Regions from separate parts of the Homo sapiens genome. Here regions 2, 3, 4, 5 and 6 are each linked to region 1. The links are contacts of gene promoters, found by promoter capture Hi-C in blood cells and fetal thymus (Javierre and others, 2016). All regions are on one chromosome and are shown on one strand. Each heading gives the region's core, a stretch centred on a gene start or on the middle of the fragment in contact. The rest is flanking DNA. Distances are from core to core; before and after follow the strand shown. Region 1 holds the start of FH (fumarate hydratase). Region 2 overlaps ZBTB18 (zinc finger and BTB domain containing 18). Region 3 overlaps LINC02774 (long intergenic non-protein coding RNA 2774). Region 4 overlaps ADSS2 (adenylosuccinate synthase 2). Region 5 overlaps LOC105373262 (a long non-coding RNA gene). Region 6 overlaps CATSPERE (catsper channel auxiliary subunit epsilon).

Region 1 (3,010 bases), core at 304-2,803:
GAAATAAGAGACATGCTCGAAACAAAAATGAAACAAAAAATAAAATAAAATGAGAAATATACAGCAGGCAAATAATAGCCAATATGAAATTGGTAGAGAAATATCAATATTAAAAAAAGTTTAAAAGGACAAGCAACAATAACAATAAAGAGGGGCACCACACAATGAAGAAAGAGATGATCTATGAAGAAATGATAAACATATGTTCATTAAATAATTTTGTGTAATAGCAAAGAAAAATGTTCTTTATTAAGAAACTGGATAAATAAAATATTTCATATTCATGTGATCCAATATGATTAATTTTAAAAGATCATGGCTATATCTTAAAAGCATAGAGTTCAATTATGCAACAGTAAAACTTTAAAGTAAAATATTAAAACCATTGTTTGTATATTAGTGTATGAAGCAAAAAATACACAGAACTGAAAGGATGCATCAAAATAATGATATACACAATAATGATACCTGCTGGGAAGGAGGAGAACAAAAACAAAACGTCATTCCATTATTAGCAATGTTTTAAAGAATTTGCATTCAGTTTTCTAGTGTGTTTTGATTGTAGTTCAACTATTACAATCTCATTTGAATTTTTATATTTTAAATATGTGTCAAATTTATAAGTCACAAAATAACATAATGTTACCAAAAGGTTTGGCAAGTTTGTAAGTTTGACTCATAAATTTGGCTTTGCAGGTTCTGGACTTTTGATTTTAAGAACATCCGATCGCTCTCTCTTTACTGTCATCTGGTTCCAAGCAATAGAAAAGAGAAAAGATAAAACTGTGGTTCAGATGCAATTTTATATCAATTCCTGCTTTTCTGTAATCAACTATTATATTAAAACAATATGCCTTTAATTTGAAAATGTATAAATTAGCTATGCAAAAAACTGGGAGAACGATATACAAATAATAAAAATTCCGAGGTTCCCTATAATTGTGTACGTCTTCCACAATACATTAAAAAAAAAAAAAGAGTTCTGAGGGTATAGGCTAAGAAGAGAAAGGAAACGGTAGCGATCTCAAAATGATAAGTTAAAAGAAATAAGTAAGTAGCTTATTTTTCAGTTGTGGGATTATGAATAATTACTATTTCATTATCTACACTTTGCTGCACTTCCCAAAATTTCTACACAGAAGATACAATCTGGAAGAAATGAAGAAAGATTTCAGTAGTAAGAACGTGTAATGAGTGATTACATGATAAATAAAACAATAAATATTTCTTTCTAGGATATTTCACCAACCAAACACGACCTGATTCACCAACTAATACTCCCGCCTTCTAACAGCCACACGTAAAAATCAGACCGGCTCCAAGAATAACCTGAGCCTCCTTTCCCATAATTCCCTTCTTTCTAGTTTCCCATGAATCCGAAGGCCTTACACCCCACACTACTACTAGAAAGTTAACCCGCCCCCTCATTCTTTACTGGTCATTCACGATTGGTCCTGCCCCACCTGTCGGTGTGAGGCTGTTGATTGGATAAGAGCGGAGGCCGGTGGGCGGAACGGTTTCTGACAACCGGCGTGGAGGCGTGGCCACAGCCGCCCAGAAATTCTACCCAAGCTCCCTCAGCACCATGTACCGAGCACTTCGGCTCCTCGCGCGCTCGCGTCCCCTCGTGCGGGCTCCAGCCGCAGCCTTAGCTTCGGCTCCCGGCTTGGGTGGCGCGGCCGTGCCCTCGTTTTGGCCTCCGAACGCGGCTCGAATGGTGAGCGCAGGCCGCCATCCCCCGGCCTCCCCGCAGTGACCTTCAGCCCTCCTGCCTGCCGGCCTGGGCGCCCGCGACTTGGCGGGAGAGATTCCCCGGGCGTCCGGGCCGCGCCAGACTCTGGGCTTAGCGCCCGTGCCGGCGTGGCGGGCCTCCCGGCCTCGGGACGCCTCTTCCGGCGCAGGGATGGAGCCGCAGCCCGGGAGAGCGCTTGGGGAGGGACGGGGGCTGTCAGAGAGGGTCCTACTGGGCCCGCTCCCGGCGCCTCCTCGGAGCCGTCCGTGGCGGGCCGAGGCCGGGGCGTTTTGAGGTAACTTCGCTGCTGCTGGCGCGCAGGCCCCCAGCCCCGGGGCGCTGCCCTCAAGGACAGTGCCGGCGTGGGCGGAGGGTGCTGGGAGAGGGGCAGCTCCCGCACCGTCCTGCCCCATAGCTGGGCCTTGCTGGCCGGACACTGGCCGCCTGTGCATCTAGTGGTTTCTGAACTGTGGTTTGTTTCGCCAAGGGGCACTGCACTGCTTTCAGGCCCTCCAGGTGGGGTAGAAGGTTCTTCGAAGATTTTACTTCCTTTGAAATTGCATGCTCAGTTTGTTAGGCTGACTATGGTTTCCCCCGTAATTGTTGTAAAACTCTTCAATTCCGAATACCGCGGGCATAGTGTTCTGAAGCATGTTTGAGCAGATTGGCTAGGAGCTGAATCGGTACTTTTTATTCAGAAAGCCAGCTAAGAACTTAAAGATCCAAGTTCAGGTTATGACATGCTTACGTAAGTCATTTTGCTCTTTAGAGTGTCATCTTTAGGAATGCAGGCTTTTAAAAAGCTTTAAATACATATGTATATTGTTAGGAAACGTTTGAGAAATGATAGTTGAAGAGTTACAGTTCTGCACTGGTGTAGCATGAGGTTTGCAATCTAAGAGATGTGATTTCAAATCCGTATGCAAAGTTGAAATACTTACAGCTACTCAGCAAAACTGCACATGTGAAAATACCATGTAGCGAGTGCTCATTAAATAAGTGCCCCATCTAGGGTATTTCAAAGGGCCAGTACTTTTTCTGGACTCTAAACTTCAAGATAATTTGATTGGGTCACTATACCTACGATATACAACTATACTACAGAATCAGAGATGTTTTGTATTCCTCGAACTCCCTGCTCGAATAATTTTAGGGCATTTTAAAACCTTTACATATTTTTAAATTTATTTATTGTTTATTTAGTGTTTTGTAAAGGGAAGCAGACTGGAGAACTTCTGAATCTATCCTGTTGATGCAAATGTCAAAAAATAGCAGCAC
Region 2 (3,104 bases), core at 157-2,656, 2.5 Mb before region 1:
CAGTACATTAGTAAATGCTAGAATCAAATCAGGAAATTTACCTGGATAATTCATCCCTCTCAAAAAAAATGCTGATTTATTGCAAGTACTTAAATATTTTTAGACAAATACTATCCTATAAGCCTGAATTACCTGGATGATTAATTCAACAATTTATTTAGTGTAAGCAGATACATTATAAAGTATTTAGACTTAAAAAAAAAAAACAACTTTTCATGCCATTGTTCCATTTATATGACCTCATCCTTTCTGATTACAGTGTTTTAAATTTGGAGTTTAGCTTCTTTCACAAGAAATTACAAAAGTTAATTAGTAAAGATTTTTTTAAGGGGTTGGTTCACAAAAATACTGAAAGTCCAATTTCTAAAGTGCCTCTGAAAATGAATTTCTAAAAACCTCCCGTGTCATCAATAAGATCTGATTACTTTAGCTATCCTTTTATAATATTAAGGAAATGTAAGCAAGGGCGGAGGTCCTAGAAGCATAAAATGTTTCTTTTTTATGGAAGTAAACCTACTCGGAGTCAAAAGATAAACGGTTCTACATTTTAAACCAAGGGATTATATACAAAGATATTTTGCCGTGTTTTTGTAGGCAAAGGTACAAAAATTTTAACATAAGGGACAAAATCCTGTCAGTATAATAAACTTGGACTACAGCCAAAATGAAACTCCTAAAAGCTATTCGCTTTTAAAAAATAAAACTATTCCTTTATTTTTAAAGATGGTATCTTTAGCATTTTAATGTCAAGTAATTTCAGTGAAAAGGACGGAGCTTTTCTTTGCCGCATTTCAAATTCACACTCAATTCACTGTACCTTATCAGCAAATTCAAGCATTGCAACAAACAATTATAACAAAAATTTAGGTCAGTATCTACAAATTAAAATATAAAATTATCTCAGTTTCCTAGTCAGAGCATGTGAAACTTTCCCTCGTTATAGTGGAAATCAAAGAATGTTTTAAGCTTTATAGGAATAAAATAGTCATGCCATGCAGGAAATTTTGAGGTCTTAAGACCATTAAAAAAAAAATCTTATATGTACAATGGGATTTCTTGAGTCAAGGCTTCATGGAGTCAGTGAGTCGGTGTGTGTTTTATACGTAACACTTGGAAGTTCGAGATTTTTTAAGTAGTGCCACTTCTTGGTAAAAAAAAAAAAAAAAAAGATTTTTTGATGGTAGTTAAAAAGATTTACTTGGAAAATGATTATTTTGGCCATTTTAACTGTTCTAAAATGTTAATATAGTATTCCCCTTTTTCCAACCTTTCAATAACCTATTTGTAGATATTCATAACAAATGTTAAAGAAAAACTCTATTTGATTCACCTATTAATCTGATAGCATAATTAACCAGAAAGGAAATCCGAAACTAGTATCCTTAACACTTTATACTTCTTGGATCTTCCCTAGGGTACCCCTAGCACACAATGCTGAACCCACATCAATCCAGTGCATAATTGATTATCTAAAGGAAAAAGAAGTTTTCTAAAGTAAATAAAACTACATATTTAAAATATACTATGTATCAGCCAGATGTCAAAGGAGGGATCAGTTTTAATGGTTTCCAACATGATCACATGACAAATTAATTTCCTTTTTTAAATGTGGCAAATAAATGATTCCTTCATTTCACTTACCAAATGTGGCAGTTTGTGTAATTAATATTCTGTTCTAGTTTTGCAAAGAATGTTTTAAGAAGTTACTTCTTCCAAATCATGTCAAAATATTATTTTTATAAGTATATCCAGTTAAGATTGTTAAGATAATGTTCCTTACTTAAAATTAGATGTTAGTCCACAGAACTAAATTCAAGTAAACGCTCAGCATCTTCAGGAAGCTTTGAGATACTCTGACCAGTTACTATAGGAACTGAAAATAAAAAGTCCCCCTCCCTCCCCTTTTTGTAAGCTTGTAACTGCTCAAGAAATTATTCTATGGGGGTCAAATGTACATTCCCCTTTCATGTGAAACAGTATTTGGCTGGTTAAAACCAAGGATGAGTTACATACTTTAAAAATTGTTTTAGAAAAAAAAAAAAAAAGGCAGGGGGATGGAAATTAGGATTCCAAATTATGTTATTATACTTCATGACAAAATCCCTGTGGCTTCCTATCCAAAGCCACCAGGTAGTTGGTAAATGGTCCATTTTCAAACTTCAGACCTTATATCCCACTTCTGTAGGTTAAAAATATTGACCTTACTATAGGCCACTGAATATAAACATAGTTTGACAGTAATAATGTAAAATTTCATAGTCATATTTCTATTTAAGGTTGGAAGTTAGAGACAAGCACGGTTTACAAAACCTCTCCATGCCTGCACCTGACTGCTTGAGCTTAGGGTTGTTTGTGACAATTCCTCTACAGTATCATCCGCATGTGTGAGTGTTCTGTCAATTCCCTACCCAGGTCAACCAGCAATGTTTCTCACCCTGACATGTACCCAACTAGATAAGCATGAAGTTGGGACAATCATAAAAAGTAGGGAACAGAGTTCTTTTAATGGTCCATGTATTTAATTACATGTTTAAATTAAAACTTGAGAATTAAAACCTAGAAACTTTCGAGTTCTCCCAGCAACAAAAAGGATGTATATAGCTAATCGTGAACAATTGCATGCCTGCTAATTCAATTGCCTAGAATTCCAGTCATTAGCCAAGCAGTCTTCCAAATTAAAACATCCGGTCTCCTTCAATTTTCCACTTAAACCAGAACACAGGAGAATAGATTTGACCGATCAACTTAGGATAAAATTACACACGAAAAGTGACTTACGGTATATGGATTAGTAGTTGTACAGTGTATTTTTAACAACCTATGCTGCCACGTAGTTTCATGATTCATGAGTTTCTAGGGAATTACCTCAACATTCTTGATGTAGATTGTGAAAATGGGTCGCATTTTTTAAATGTGCATTTAGTATCTTCTTAAGTGACTAGAATGCTTACACATTTTCCACTCGAGTGATTTAAGGCATTCTAATAATTTCATAAACTCCGAATAGAATTGATATTAAAGATGCCAGGTATGATACATATTTAGAATCTATACACTACATAATCACAATAAAAAATACACACAAGAAATTCTCAGTTCATATA
Region 3 (3,318 bases), core at 271-2,770, 2.5 Mb before region 1:
GAGTTTGTAGAAATTCGGGTTGCAAATGAACTTAGAAAAGTTGAAATGAACAGAACAAGAGAGGTTACCAGGTAATATTGATGCCTCACACCTACTGTGTGTTAGCTGCTGTGCTTCGGACGCAAAGATACAAATAGCGTCTGTCTGTCTGTCTGCATTCTCCTCCAGGGAGAGATTTTTCCTTTCCTTTTGTGCTTGCTTCACTCTTGAATGCAGCACCTTCTTGGATTTAAACAAGCAGAAAGGAAAATGATACATCTAGAAATTATTTACTAAGAACTTAGTATATGTTAGAGAAACACGAAACTGCATTATCATGGTTCTTGTTAAGTTTCCACCATGTGCTGGGTGCCAACAATACATGAAATAATATCATTCCCTCTTATATCTTCATTATGTATATATAAATGTCATTGTGAATCCACTGGACAAAGATGAGATTTCATTTTTCTTTCAGAGACTAATATGTTGCTGATGCCTAATAAGTGTTTACCAATCTTAACTACTGTAACAAGATAAAATTGTCTTAATACAACTCTTTGGTTATAAAGAAATTCTATAAATTTAACACAAAAGTCTTGATACATACCAAATTCAAACTATTCCCGGTAATAAGAGCAGACAGAAGGTTAAATTTCACTCCAGAAATTTACTTCGCCCTTAGCAATAACATGCAACTCAGGAAGTTACTTCTCTTACAAAGAACTAGCATTTATGCCTAAGACTAAAATGATTATTTTTAAAGTACCCATTTTACAATGCAAATGTGTATCTAAATTAAACTCAGTAAAAATAAGCATTTTAAATTGAAGCTGCAGTAATAGCTTTATGGGAGACAATAGGAAAAGTGGTTCTTGAATATGAACTCAGAGAACACACATTTCACATTCCTTCTAGGGGCCTTGAAGCTTTCTTTGTTCTCTGTCTCTGTACATAAATGTCACATGTTTTAACTGAAAACCCATTGCTCTGAAGTAACTTTACACAACTGAGGCTGTTCAGCAAGGTCATGGCAAAAAAAAAAAGTTTGGGTTCAGAAAAAGAAATTGGACTCACAACTGGTGTACAATGCCACGCCGTACCTTAGCACTTGGGATATGGGACAGATGCAGGAACACAGGCTCACTAAAACAGACAGTGACAAGAGACTGCATAACAAAGACACATGCACAATAGGGCATTTTAGAGACAAATGACAGACAGAGTAGAGCAATATATGGGACAACAGCTTTACAGGGATGGGAGGGCTGTAAAGAATGGTGAGAAGATGGTGACAGTGTAGAAGAAGGATAACGGAAGAGAGGTAAAGAGAAGGAAAGATCCCACTGGGAAGTGGTCTATGGTAGAGGCCATGGTGGTGGCAATGGTGCTGGCAGAGTTGGTGGTGGCAGCAGCAAGGTAAATAAAGCAGAGATGTGAATACTTCTTCCTGGGCTCTGCTGATGTATGCCACTATTTTTTGTCTTGCAAATTATTCTTAAATAATACTTCATGAAATAGCTGGCCCCAAAGTAAAGAAGACTAGAATATACTCAGTTGATTTTGCCAAGAGAGCACTTGATAAAAGAATAAAGAATTTTAAAAAAATAATGTAGACTATACTCAGTATTTAACTCTTTCCAGACATGAGGTTGCTACGATCAGGGCAAGGCGTGTGTGTGTGTGTGTGTGTGTGTGTGTGTACTCACATGCACACTCATATACCTAAGTTACTAGTTTGGCTGGTTTTTCTGGTAAGATTGGCTTAATATGAACTAGATTTTTCTTAATAGAGATAAGAATTTCATAGCACATTCATTGCGTAGTTTTAGGTTGACCTTATAGGGAAATTGTAGGTATGTATTGACATTTCATTGAGTAATTTGAACTATTTGTTAACCTAACTAATCACATTTCAGAAATAAATTCATTCCTTCAACAGCCACTGAATCCCTATCATGCATCAGGCCTGGTTGGAATTACATCAGCCTCTGTACAAAACATCTGGCCTGGCTCATAACCAGATGCACGAACTAGCATTGGAAGGAAACACTCTTGAACTACTTTGATAAAGTGAACCAGGAAAATTCCCATTATCAAAGATACCCACCTATTTTTTGTTTCCTATCTTCCTTGGTGGGATGTAAGCTTCCTCAGGATGGGGACTCTTCTATGATAATAGCTGTATCCTTAGCACCTAGAATGGTGCTTGGCACATAATACGCATTCAAGAAATAGTCTAGAAAGGGAGGGAGGGAGAGAACAGAAGGAAAGAAGGGAGAGGGCAGAAGAGAAGGAAAAGAAAGGGGAAGGCGGGGAAAAGGGAAGGGAGATAATGAAAAGAAATAACTTACACCTTTGCATTTTTCCAAGGCCAGCGGGATTAGCAATGCTTTACATGTTCAACTGCTCCCTTTAAACTTGGGATGAAGGACAGCTTATTATGTAGACTACCAGAAAAGCATCTATTTACTTTTTGGGGGTGCACTCTGACCCAACCTAGAAATATCCCAGATGGATGTGGTAGAGACTTTACTCCTGGGAGAAGCATAGCGATTCTTTAGGATATAGAAGAGATGTTTCATCCTTGAGGCATTTTAGAGGTGAGTTATTCCTCAAACATCGCTTATAGGCATAAGATGTGTTGTTATTTTCATTACTTGGAGGAGAATGTTGAAATGGAATGGCTAAGTGACTTGTCCAAGGCCCCAAATTAAGATTGGTGAGTTGCAGAGCTAGTTCATCAACAATTCACTAAGTCATTTTTCTTCAGATATTTAGGCCACTCTGAAATCAAAAGAAAAAACTCCATTGTTTTTAAACAAATTAGAATCTGCCATGCTTTGAAAACACATAGTCATTTGGGTGTTTATCCTTGAGGATACATCCATGATCTCAATCGAACCACATAAACAAGCTAAAAATATAATGAAAGGAATTATTCCTGACTTTTCAAGTGTAGCTTCAACTACAGACATATGCTATTGGTGGATATAAACGAAGATACCTCCAAGCAAGAAATGTTTTCCCTTTCTGTAGGTCCTATTAAGACAGTAGGGTCCTAGTAGCAGTAAATTTGGTGCAGAGGAACTGATAAAATTATATATTTGGGTGCATCCGGTGACTATGAGAGAGAAAAGATTATATTTTCATTTGCATGGTTTGCTGGGTTTTATTTGGCAGATATAATAACACAGGCTACGCAGAACCCATAAAACAAAGTGAGAACAGCAGCTCATTTGGTGGCAGAATGTAATGGTTGTAGCTAAAGGGCTTACATAATTCATCTCAAACCCTTATGCCTTTATTTATTGTTGTTTAAATGAAAATTAAACTCTT
Region 4 (3,306 bases), core at 383-2,882, 2.9 Mb before region 1:
AATAATGAAAATTAGCTATGTATTGATGGTAAAAACTAAAAGCATACATCAGAAACTTTGCTTTTCAGCTTTGAGAACATAGAATTTTAGTCCTGCTTTTTGTTTCTATCATGATGTTCCAGTTTATTTCATAGCTCTGTGATGAGATACATTTTTTCCTGGTAATTAAGAAGCTTATTTAATATTTTCTTTGTATTTCATCTTTTTTTTTTTTTTTTTTTTTTGAGATGGAGTCTCGCTCTGTCGCCCAGGCTGGAGTGCAGTGGCGGGATCTCGGCTCACTGCAAGCTCCGCCTCCCGGGTTCACGCCATTCTCCTGCCTCAGCCTCCCAAGTAGCTGGGACTACAGGCGCCCGCCACTACGCCCGGCTAATTTTTTGTATTTTTAGTAGAGACGGGGTTTCACCGTTTTAGCCGGGATGGTCTCGATCTCCTGACCTCGTGATCCGCCCGCCTCGGCCTCCCAAAGTGCTGGGATTACAGGCGTGAGCCACCGCGCCCGGCCTGTATTTCATCTTAATGTAAGAATAACAGTCAAAGAAAATTGGTAAAATATATACTATATTAGGGGATGTTTTGTGACTGCAATTGAATTTTCTTTCATATATTGTTCACTTTAATAAAATTAACCTGCATTTATTCTTGGTATTTAATATAAGAAGAACATCATATAAGGCATTATAAGCTTATGCTTTTCCTCAAAGAAACCTGCCACGTAGCTACTTGTGGACTCATGCTGTTTTTTGTTTCTTGGGGTGTTGGTGGGGGGTAGGGTATATTTCAGAAGTAAAATGGTTTAAAAATTGGCCTCAACCTGAAAGCCTGCCATGCAGTGTTGTGGCACTGATGGAAGTGTGAATGAGAAGGCGGTGTCAGCACGTGGCTGGAGAGCCGCTCCGCCACTCTGCCACTCCGCCTCCCTGCCACGTGGCTTGTGAGGAGCCACTAAACCTTTCCGTGCCTAGGCCTCCCCATCTGTGGAATAGTCAGTACCACCTACTTCATAGGGGTGTTGTGCGGACTGAAAAAAACAATGTCAAATGTTTTTAATATTCAGATGCAAGGATGATGTCTGAAATCTGTACTGTATAAAGGCTACACAAAAATGGACAGACATTTGGTTGACTGTGCCAGATACCAAAAATGTACGTTCAGAAAAGCATTTTACCAACTCAGAAATATGACTTATTTCTAGGAAAAACAAAGTTCAAAAAATTATCTCTGAGATTTATTACTAAATGTTTTCCCTGTTGGATATAATTGATCCAGAAACAACGTTGAGATTCCACAGCCCTTTGTTTATATAACTATTAATTGAACATATTCTATTTTTTTGTTAAGTAATATAGAATATACAGCTATGATAATGAAAAGTATTTGTTAAATGCTACAAGAGTGACTGGGATCATAAGTGTTACGGGAGTTTGGCAAAGAAGCAGGAGGTAGTTAGTGTAACTGTTAATGTGATTATAAGACTAATACATTTGTGGGAGATAACTTACCAAGTTTGGTTTGTGGAAAATTTGGATTGAGAAGGAAATTGTATGTTTCCGTTAGAAGTAGAACAACAACAACAAAATATCTCCCATCATTTGTTTGGTACTATCTGGCCTCCCCAGTGCTGCTTGGGAGAATCATGAAACATGATGAATCAAACACATCCTTGCTGTTGCTCATCCTGGCACATATTACACAGAGTTGCCCATGGGCCCATGTAGGAGCAGCTCCATCTGCCCTTCTAATACATAGGTGGGAGACTGAGGGGGTGCTCGTATTTGAAACTGTTTTTGGTTATGGTGCTCATATTTGAAATGCTTTGTTTTACTGTCTGCTAATATGTGACCTCTCCTTGAACCAGTATAATCTCTGTTTGAGGACAATTGCCTGAGCTCCCAAGGTGAATTTTGCCTATTTACATAATCTGAATATTTTAGGTTAACATCCAAATGGGCACTTCAAATTTCTTTATCTGTTGCATTTTATAAAATACAGTATACTAAAACTTGCTTCCTATATAGATTACCTCATCAAGAAACTCCTTATGAGCAGCTCTTTCTCAGTTCTCCTGAAGACCCTTCTGTGTAGTGTGCGTTTCAAGATTAAAAGTTATACCCCAACTGCCTCACAGAGCACTAGTGACCAAATATAAATAAGCACTTAGATATTTCCCCCTAAATCCCACGTAGGATAATCTCGGGTGTTTCTGGGTATATTTAACAATGTTTCCATACGGAAACAACTTAAATGATATTTAAACCATATAATAATCAATGTAATACTGGTTATTGAAAAATGTTGCTATTTTTCAATAACTAATATTTGAATGAGCAAACTTTATACCACCATGTGACTTTGTCTTTTACTGCTGAACTTTCCAGCCTGAGCTGCCTATAAACTTGGACAAACTTAGGGAGTTAAGCCAATTTTTCCCCCTAAAGTCATCCATCACAACCATCTGCCTAAAAAATTTGTGTGTGTGTGTGTGTGTGTGTGTGTAGAGCAACCATCATCTCTTTATTATGGTTAATTCCATCATTACTATCTGTCTTGGTAAAATATTAGCTAAGAGAGTAAGCTTTTGTTACACAATAAGAACATTGTCATTCACTACCAGTAATAATTGTCAAATAATAATTCATCAAATGATTATATTGGTATAGCTATAAAAGTAATTTTGTGTAAATTAGGAGACCTACTTTAAGGGTCTACTCCAAAAATTAGAGTAGTTTATTTTTAACCTTGAGCAAATGATGAATTTTTTAAAACTTTTTGTTTGTTTGTTTGAGACAGAGTCTTGTTCTGTGGCCCAGGCTGGAGTGCAGTGGCGTGATCTCGGCTCACTGCAAGCTCCGCCTCCTGGGTTCACGCCATTCTCCTGCCTCAGCCTCCCGAGTAGCTGGGACTACAGGCACGTGCCACCACGCCTGGCTAATTTTTTGTATTTTTAGTAGAGACGGGGTTTCATTATGTTGGTTAGGATGGTCTCAGTCTCCTGACCTTGTGACCTACCCGCCTCAGCCTCCCAAAGTGCTGGGATTACAGGTGTGAGCCACCGTGCCCAGCCTAAAAACTGGTTTTAAAAAAATAAACTGGTTGTAGTTAGGCAGGGTGACATGCACATGCGGTCTCAGGGACTCAGGAGGCTGAGACAGGAGGATCGCTTGAGCCCAGGAATTCAAGGCCTGCTTGGGCTATAGTGAGACCCCATCTCTAAAAAAAAACCTGGTTTGACTTTGATAATAATACCTTATTTGTTGTCTCAAAATTACCAAATACTTTATAACAACTTAGTAAAAATTCATTAAA
Region 5 (3,122 bases), core at 1-2,500, 2.8 Mb before region 1:
GAATGTGACCTTATTTTGAAATAGGGTCATTACAGATGTAATGAAGGATCTCCAATTGAATCCGTCCAAGGATTAAGGTGGGCCCTGAATCCCATAGACTGGTGTCCTCATAAGAAAAGGTGAGGACAAAGAGAGACACAGAGACACACAGATAGCTATGTGAAGATGGAAGCAGAGGTTGGGGATCTGCTGCCACAAACAAAGGCACCCCAAGTATTGCCAGCAACCACCAGAAGCAAGGAGAAAGGCATGGGACGCTTTCTCCATCAGAGTCTCCGGAAGGAACCAAGCTTACTGACACCTTGATTTTGGACTTCTAGCCCCCAGAACTTCAAGATAATACATTTCTGTTGTTTAAAGCCATGTGGTTTGTGGTAATTTGTTATGACAGTGCTAGAAAACTTATACAAACCCTCCAAGGCAGAAATAAACATGGGCACAACACTGCTACCCAATCCACAGATCCCATTCAAATTTTGCTGGCTCAGCCCATCATGTCTCTTTTCCCTTTCAGGTCCAGGATCCAGTCCAGGAGCATGCATTACATTTAGTTGTCACATGTCCGAATAGAAGGAAGGAGATTCCCTTCAATATGGAATAATTTCTTAGTCTTTCCCTGTCTTCCACATCCTTCCGTTTTTTGTTTTTGTTTTTATTTTGAGACAGTCTCACTCTGTCACCCAGGCTGGAGTACAGTGGGGTGATCATGGCTCACTATAGCCTTGACTTCTCCAGGCTCAGGTGATCCTCCTACCTCAGCCTCCTGAGTATCTGGGACTACAGGCGTGTGCCACCACACTCGGCTAATTTTTGCTTTTTTTTGTAGAACAGAGTTTCAAGTTGCTCAGGCTGGTCTCAAACTCCTGGGCTCAAGTGATCCACCCACCTTGGCCTCCCAAAGTGCTGGGATTACAGGCACGACCCACTGCAACTGGCCCCACATCCTTCAGTTTTTAAGAGTGCAGGCCTTTTGTTATGTAGGATGGCCCTAGACCTGGTTCCATCTAATATTTCATTTTGGTCAGACCTCGCCATGATTTCTTGACAGGAAAATGATGGACAGGATCCTGGGCTCTGCACATTACAGCATATGATGTGGTCTTGTCTCATCACTGGTGATGTTAATCTTGATTGCTTGGTCATGTTGGTGTCTTCCATATTTCTCCTCCATTGAGTCACCATTTTCACCTTTGCAATTGATAAGCATTTTGTGGGGAGATTTTCTAAAATTATGCTAAAATCCTGATCCTTAACAACTTCTACCCATCAGCCTTAATATTTGTGGATGATCCCTATCTGAATAAATTATAACCATAATAGTGTCATATGGTGGTTTGCTATTTTCATCATTCCTTCTACATTAATTACTTGGTATTCTACTGTAAGAAAGAAGTTCCACTGCTTCCTCTATTTATTTACTTATTTATTCATTTATTTAGTAGTATGAATTTCAATTTAACAGGTTAAAAACCATGCTTGTTCTTTGTGAAAGTATATAACGTTATTATCTTTATCAGAGAAGAAATGGTTCTGAACTTCTCAAGAAAGTATACAAGCAGTATAAAAATGAGATAATTACACTTACTTAACATACCTTATTTTCATCCAAATAAACACGAAAAGAATCCAACATGATATTTGAAATTCTACCATAGGGTATTTTACTAGAAAAATAGAATCTTGTGTTTTTGGTAATGTTTGTTCATATCACAAAATTACTGAGAAGCGAAACATTTCTAAATTCACATTAGAACATTGTAATTCACATTTGTGTTAGAATGATGGTTACCAGAGTCTGGGAAGGGTAGTGGAGTAGTAGAATGGGGGATGGTTATTGGATATGAAAATATAGTTAGTTAGAATGAATAAGATCTAGTATTTGATAGCACAACAGGGTAACTACAGTCAACAATAATTTATTGTACATTTAAAAATAACTATAAGACTATAATTAGATTGTAACACAAAGAAAGGATAAATGTTTGAAGTGATAGATACCCCATTTATCCTGATGTGATTATTACACATTGTATGCTTGTATCAAAATATCTCATGTACGCCATACATATATATGCCTACTGTGTACTCACAAAAATTAAAAATTGTAAAAATAAATAAACAAAACAAAACAAAATTGTTTGATATTTCTTTTATAAATTCCCTTTCACAAATCTTTTCATGACTTACACAGAACATCTATGAAAAGCTTGGACTTTCTCACTTGTCCTAAGCATCCCTCTTTTTAAACAATCAGTTATTTTTCTTTAGGATGCAAATTTACGACAAAAGATCCTTTCTCATATAAAATTTCTTTTCTTTATAATCTTCCTTAACAAAAATACCTCTTTACCTTTATAACCTTTGAATTAGAGAAAAGTTATTTTCCTTCTGTTAGGAATTTATGGTTTGTACTGCATGTTGTTGTGTGTGTCCTGTGAAGGGGAAGCAAATGAGGAGGTTATCTACATACTGTAGAAGTTGTTTCCCCTCAAGAGATTGCTCGGTTAGATTTTTGCTAGGGCTCATCCAAATAAGTGTGGGCTATTTTTAAACCCCTGAAGTAGGATGGTACAGGTTGAAGTTATCGGTTAAAGATTTAGGTAGCTTTTTGGGAGAAATAGGGCTATTAGAGAGGAAGGTGAATTCAGAGGTTGGGTACATATTAAGCAGCCACCCATTTTGGAAAGTATATTTTTGTCCTAAAGGGGTGTGAATCTTTTCTTTTAGAGGGAGAGGGTGACATTTGCCCTGTTACCTGATAGGATTTGGAGAAGAGTTGCTTAGAGAAGTAGATTAGCATAGACTAGGCAGCTCTTGAACCCAAAAGGGAAATGTATAATTTTACTTGCTACCTCTACTGTTGCCCTTGGCTTTGTCTTGCTGATGACAATGTCTGACTTGGAAGCCAGCCAGAGCAGAGGTCTCCTTCAGCTCAAGGCCATCAGGGATTGGGATCCAGTCCTTCGGCCGTCAGAGCAGTTCTTTTCCAGTGGCAGAGCTTGTGGCAAAGGGGCAAGCTGTGCCGGGCTTTTTCCCATTTATCTCATTGGGGCAGTTTGCCTTCCAGTGGCCTGGCTTCCCACACCAATGACAGTTACCTGAAGGACTGTCCTTAGGGTAAC
Region 6 (2,954 bases), core at 434-2,933, 2.9 Mb before region 1:
TACTGGGTTGTTTCTAGTTTGGAGTTCTTAGGAATAATGCTGTCGTAACCGTTCCTACATAGGTCTTCTGGTGCTGGATGTATACCTAGGAGTCAAACTAGTGTGTCACAGGATACGTATATATTCAACACTATTGGATAATAGCAAACAGGTTTTCAAAGTGGTTATACCAACCTGCATTCCTTCTAGTGGTGTATTAGAGTTCCTACTGCTTTACATTCTTACCACCCCTTGTTATCTTCAGTCTTCTTAATTTTAGGCATTCTGATTGGTTTGTAATTACATCTCCCTGTAATTTTAATTCACACTTCACTAATTTTTCATAAGTTTGCTGGTCATTTGTACATCCTTTTTTGTGAAATATCCCCTTAGGTCTTTTCCTCCTTTCTTTTTTATACTTTAGAAAAATTTAAACAATACTGAAATGATGTGCTTCTTAAAGATTTGGTAGAATTCCCACACAAAACCATCTGGGCCTGGTTCAAATTATAAATATTTATTTATTTATAAAGGGAGCACAACACTGATAGAAAACACAACAGAAATTGTTGAGTTATTTAGTAAAAATTAACTAAAGACTCCTGATTCTAATTTACGAGTGATACCACACAGTGCTAGGAATTGACTGTTGTGTATTGTATTCTCAGCCATGATCATTCATTCCTGCATAACTCTAGGCTATCCCTAGATTGCAGGAGCTGGAAACCAGGAACCCTCAAGGGTTCTGAACGACTGAAAATCAGATGTGGACTGGAACTTGTAAAAAAGAGGAAGCCATTCTTCTTCCTCAGGCAGTGGTACCAAAAGTCCAGGCTTCAAAGATAGGTGGTTTTGGGGAAGGCCTCTGTCCCATCTTTCCATTGAGCACCATCCCTCATTAGGTACTGGGAGAGACTTGTGACATGGGCACCTATTTCCTCCAGGTCCTGATCTCTGGTGGCAACAGCAACTTTTTGACTATTGATAAACCTAAAAATTAGTGGGGGTTTCTAAGACCCTTGCTTTCCTAGCCCTCCCAACAGTTTGGTGAGCACCTAATTTCCTGTAGCAAATAAATTTCTGCTTGAAATATCTAGAGTGGTTACTGCTGTCCTCTGACCCCTGACTGCTACACGCTCCCTTAAAGACAGGGATAATATGACAAGTGTTTAACAAGTTGTACAGCACAGACACTGACAGTTCCAAGCGAATACCAGGCAGCATGCTACCCAAGTGTGTACTGGCTGGATTCTGCCTGCCTTAGAGGGCATCTGGAAATATGGAAGAGTATCTCAGGTCACACAATCCCTGAGGATTGTCACTGCTACTTAGTGTTTGGGAACCAGGGAAGCAAGCTGTTCTGCAAAGCAAAGGATAGTTCCATACAATGAAAATTTTTCCTGCTCAAAATTTCAGTGGCATCCCCACTGAGATAACTGCTGTGGAGCAAACTCATGTATGAATATTGATAAAAGAATCTTATATAAAATATTAACAATAGTCCCTGAGAGCATATTGAACTACTACATTGGTACCGTGTGGGGTTTTCCCAAAATCCAAGGATGATACAATAAAAGTGAATATGTTAATATGATTCACTATGATAACAAGTCTGAGAAAACTCAAAAACTTTTTTCTGTAGACTGTGAAAAGGCATTTCACAATTCACTATAAGTATCACTTATAGCGACTATTTTTTACCATATTCAATAAATTAGGAACCAATGAATACTTAGTTAATTTAATGAAATGTATCTCTCTCTGCCCAAAAGGGAGCATCTGTTTAATTGGGAGATGTTGGAAGAAATCTACTAAAGTTAGGAAGAAGATAATGAGATCAACTCTGGAGGGCTACATCATTCTTCATGAATTGGAAGATTCAATATCATAATGATACCAGTTACTATGATAACAATGTCAGTTCTCCCCAAGTGCAATCCCAATCAAAATCTCAGCAGATTTTTGCTTGTGAAAACTAACAGCCTTATTCTAAAATTTATATAAAAACGCAAATAGCCAAAGTAGTCTTGTGGAAGAACAAACTAGATGTTCACAGGACCAGATCCGAAGACTCATTAGAAAGCTATAGCAGTTAAGAGAGTGTAGAATTGGCACCAGGACAAATAAGAAAGTTCACAAACAACTCATCTACATACGGAACAAAGGTGACATGAGAAAGGTAATAGGGGAACAGTGAGTTGTTTAATAGATTCTGGTTCATTATGTGAAAAAAGTAATGTGAATGCCTATTGTACTATATACAAGGCAGACTCTAGATGGATTTATGACCTATATTTTAAAGGTAAAAATATAAGAAATATAAACTAAAATTATAAAAACATTTCAGTTCAGGGTAAGCAAATATTTTTATTAAATAAGAGCCCTGGACAGGCGCGGTGGCTCAGGCCTGTAATCCCAGCACTTTGGGAGGCCGAGGCTGGTGGATCACGAGGTCAGGAGTTCAAGACCAGCCTGGCCAATATGGTGAAATCCCATCTCTACTACAAGTACAAAAATTAGCCGGGCATGGTAGTGTGCACCTGTAGTCCCAGCTACTCAGGAGGCTGAGGCAGAAGAATCGCTTGAACCCGGGAGGCAGAGGTTACAGTGAGCCAAGATTGCACCACTGCACTCCAGCCTGGGTGACAGAGTGAGACTCTGTCTCCAAAAAAAAAAAAAAGGAGCCTCCAAAAGTTTAAATCATAAGGCAAAGGAGGGGAGAGATTTGGCTCATCAAAATTCAGCTTTTTTTTTTTTCAGTAAAGTATCCATGAACAAAGTTAACAGAAACTTGAGATAACTGAATCTTTGAAACCAACATTTGATTAATTTTTACAACGCAATGTAGATAGCACTGTGTTAACGAGTAAGAAAAAGGCAGAAAATTAAATGAAAAATAGGCAAAGGGTATGAACAGGTAATAGAAGGAGAAGCCTACATAATATGCGAAGAGATGCTCAAAATCACTAGTCATC

What was found. The method cuts DNA at HindIII sites, captures the fragments that hold promoters and counts their contacts. A CHiCAGO score of 5 or more calls a contact.
Region 2: a fragment that was not itself captured here is called in contact with the fragment with the promoter of FH in region 1 in 1 of 17 cell types (naive CD8 T cells); the score reaches 6.7 in naive CD8 T cells.
Region 3: a fragment that was not itself captured here is called in contact with the fragment with the promoter of FH in region 1 in 3 of 17 cell types (fetal thymus, total CD8 T cells and non-activated CD4 T cells); the score reaches 7.0 in fetal thymus.
Region 4: a contact is called between a fragment that was not itself captured here and the fragment with the promoter of FH in region 1, in 1 of 17 cell types (total CD4 T cells). The highest score is 10.5, in total CD4 T cells.
Region 5: a contact is called between a fragment that was not itself captured here and the fragment with the promoter of FH in region 1, in 1 of 17 cell types (total CD4 T cells). The highest score is 9.0, in total CD4 T cells.
Region 6: a fragment that was not itself captured here is called in contact with the fragment with the promoter of FH in region 1 in 2 of 17 cell types (non-activated CD4 T cells and total CD4 T cells); the score reaches 7.3 in non-activated CD4 T cells.

What each region holds. Positions count from the first base shown.
Region 1 is chr1:241,518,298-241,521,307 of GRCh38, reverse strand. It overlaps FH (fumarate hydratase), which reads left to right and starts at 1,553. Exons shown (of 10, transcript NM_000143.4): 1 at 1,553-1,717. The coding sequence starts at 1,586. RefSeq lists silencers at 1,439-1,568, 1,391-1,673, 1,849-2,118 and an enhancer at 1,179-1,775. The HindIII fragment of the contact is 3,380 bases long and covers 1-2,537 here.
Region 2 is chr1:244,057,462-244,060,565 of GRCh38, reverse strand. It overlaps ZBTB18 (zinc finger and BTB domain containing 18), which reads right to left. Exons shown (of 2, transcript NM_205768.3): 2 at 3,090-3,104. Among named protein-coding and RNA genes, the nearest start is that of ZBTB18, 7.7 kb to the right of the region's middle. The HindIII fragment of the contact is 875 bases long and covers 969-1,843 here.
Region 3 is chr1:244,040,327-244,043,644 of GRCh38, reverse strand. It overlaps LINC02774 (long intergenic non-protein coding RNA 2774), which reads right to left. Exons shown (of 12, transcript NR_033883.1): 9 at 2,090-2,218; 10 at 96-222. Among named protein-coding and RNA genes, the nearest start is that of ZBTB18, 9.3 kb to the left of the region's middle. The HindIII fragment of the contact is 1,219 bases long and covers 911-2,129 here.
Region 4 is chr1:244,441,433-244,444,738 of GRCh38, reverse strand. The region is part of intron 1 of ADSS2 (adenylosuccinate synthase 2); the gene reads left to right. Among named protein-coding and RNA genes, the nearest start is that of ADSS2, 8.8 kb to the left of the region's middle. The HindIII fragment of the contact is 1,890 bases long and covers 688-2,577 here.
Region 5 is chr1:244,305,795-244,308,916 of GRCh38, reverse strand. The region is part of intron 1 of LOC105373262 (a long non-coding RNA gene); the gene reads left to right. Among named protein-coding and RNA genes, the nearest start is that of SPMIP3, 45 kb to the left of the region's middle. The HindIII fragment of the contact is 1,916 bases long and covers 293-2,208 here.
Region 6 is chr1:244,464,744-244,467,697 of GRCh38, reverse strand. The region is part of intron 2 of CATSPERE (catsper channel auxiliary subunit epsilon); the gene reads right to left. Among named protein-coding and RNA genes, the nearest start is that of CATSPERE, 4.9 kb to the right of the region's middle. The HindIII fragment of the contact is 6,278 bases long and covers 1-2,954 here.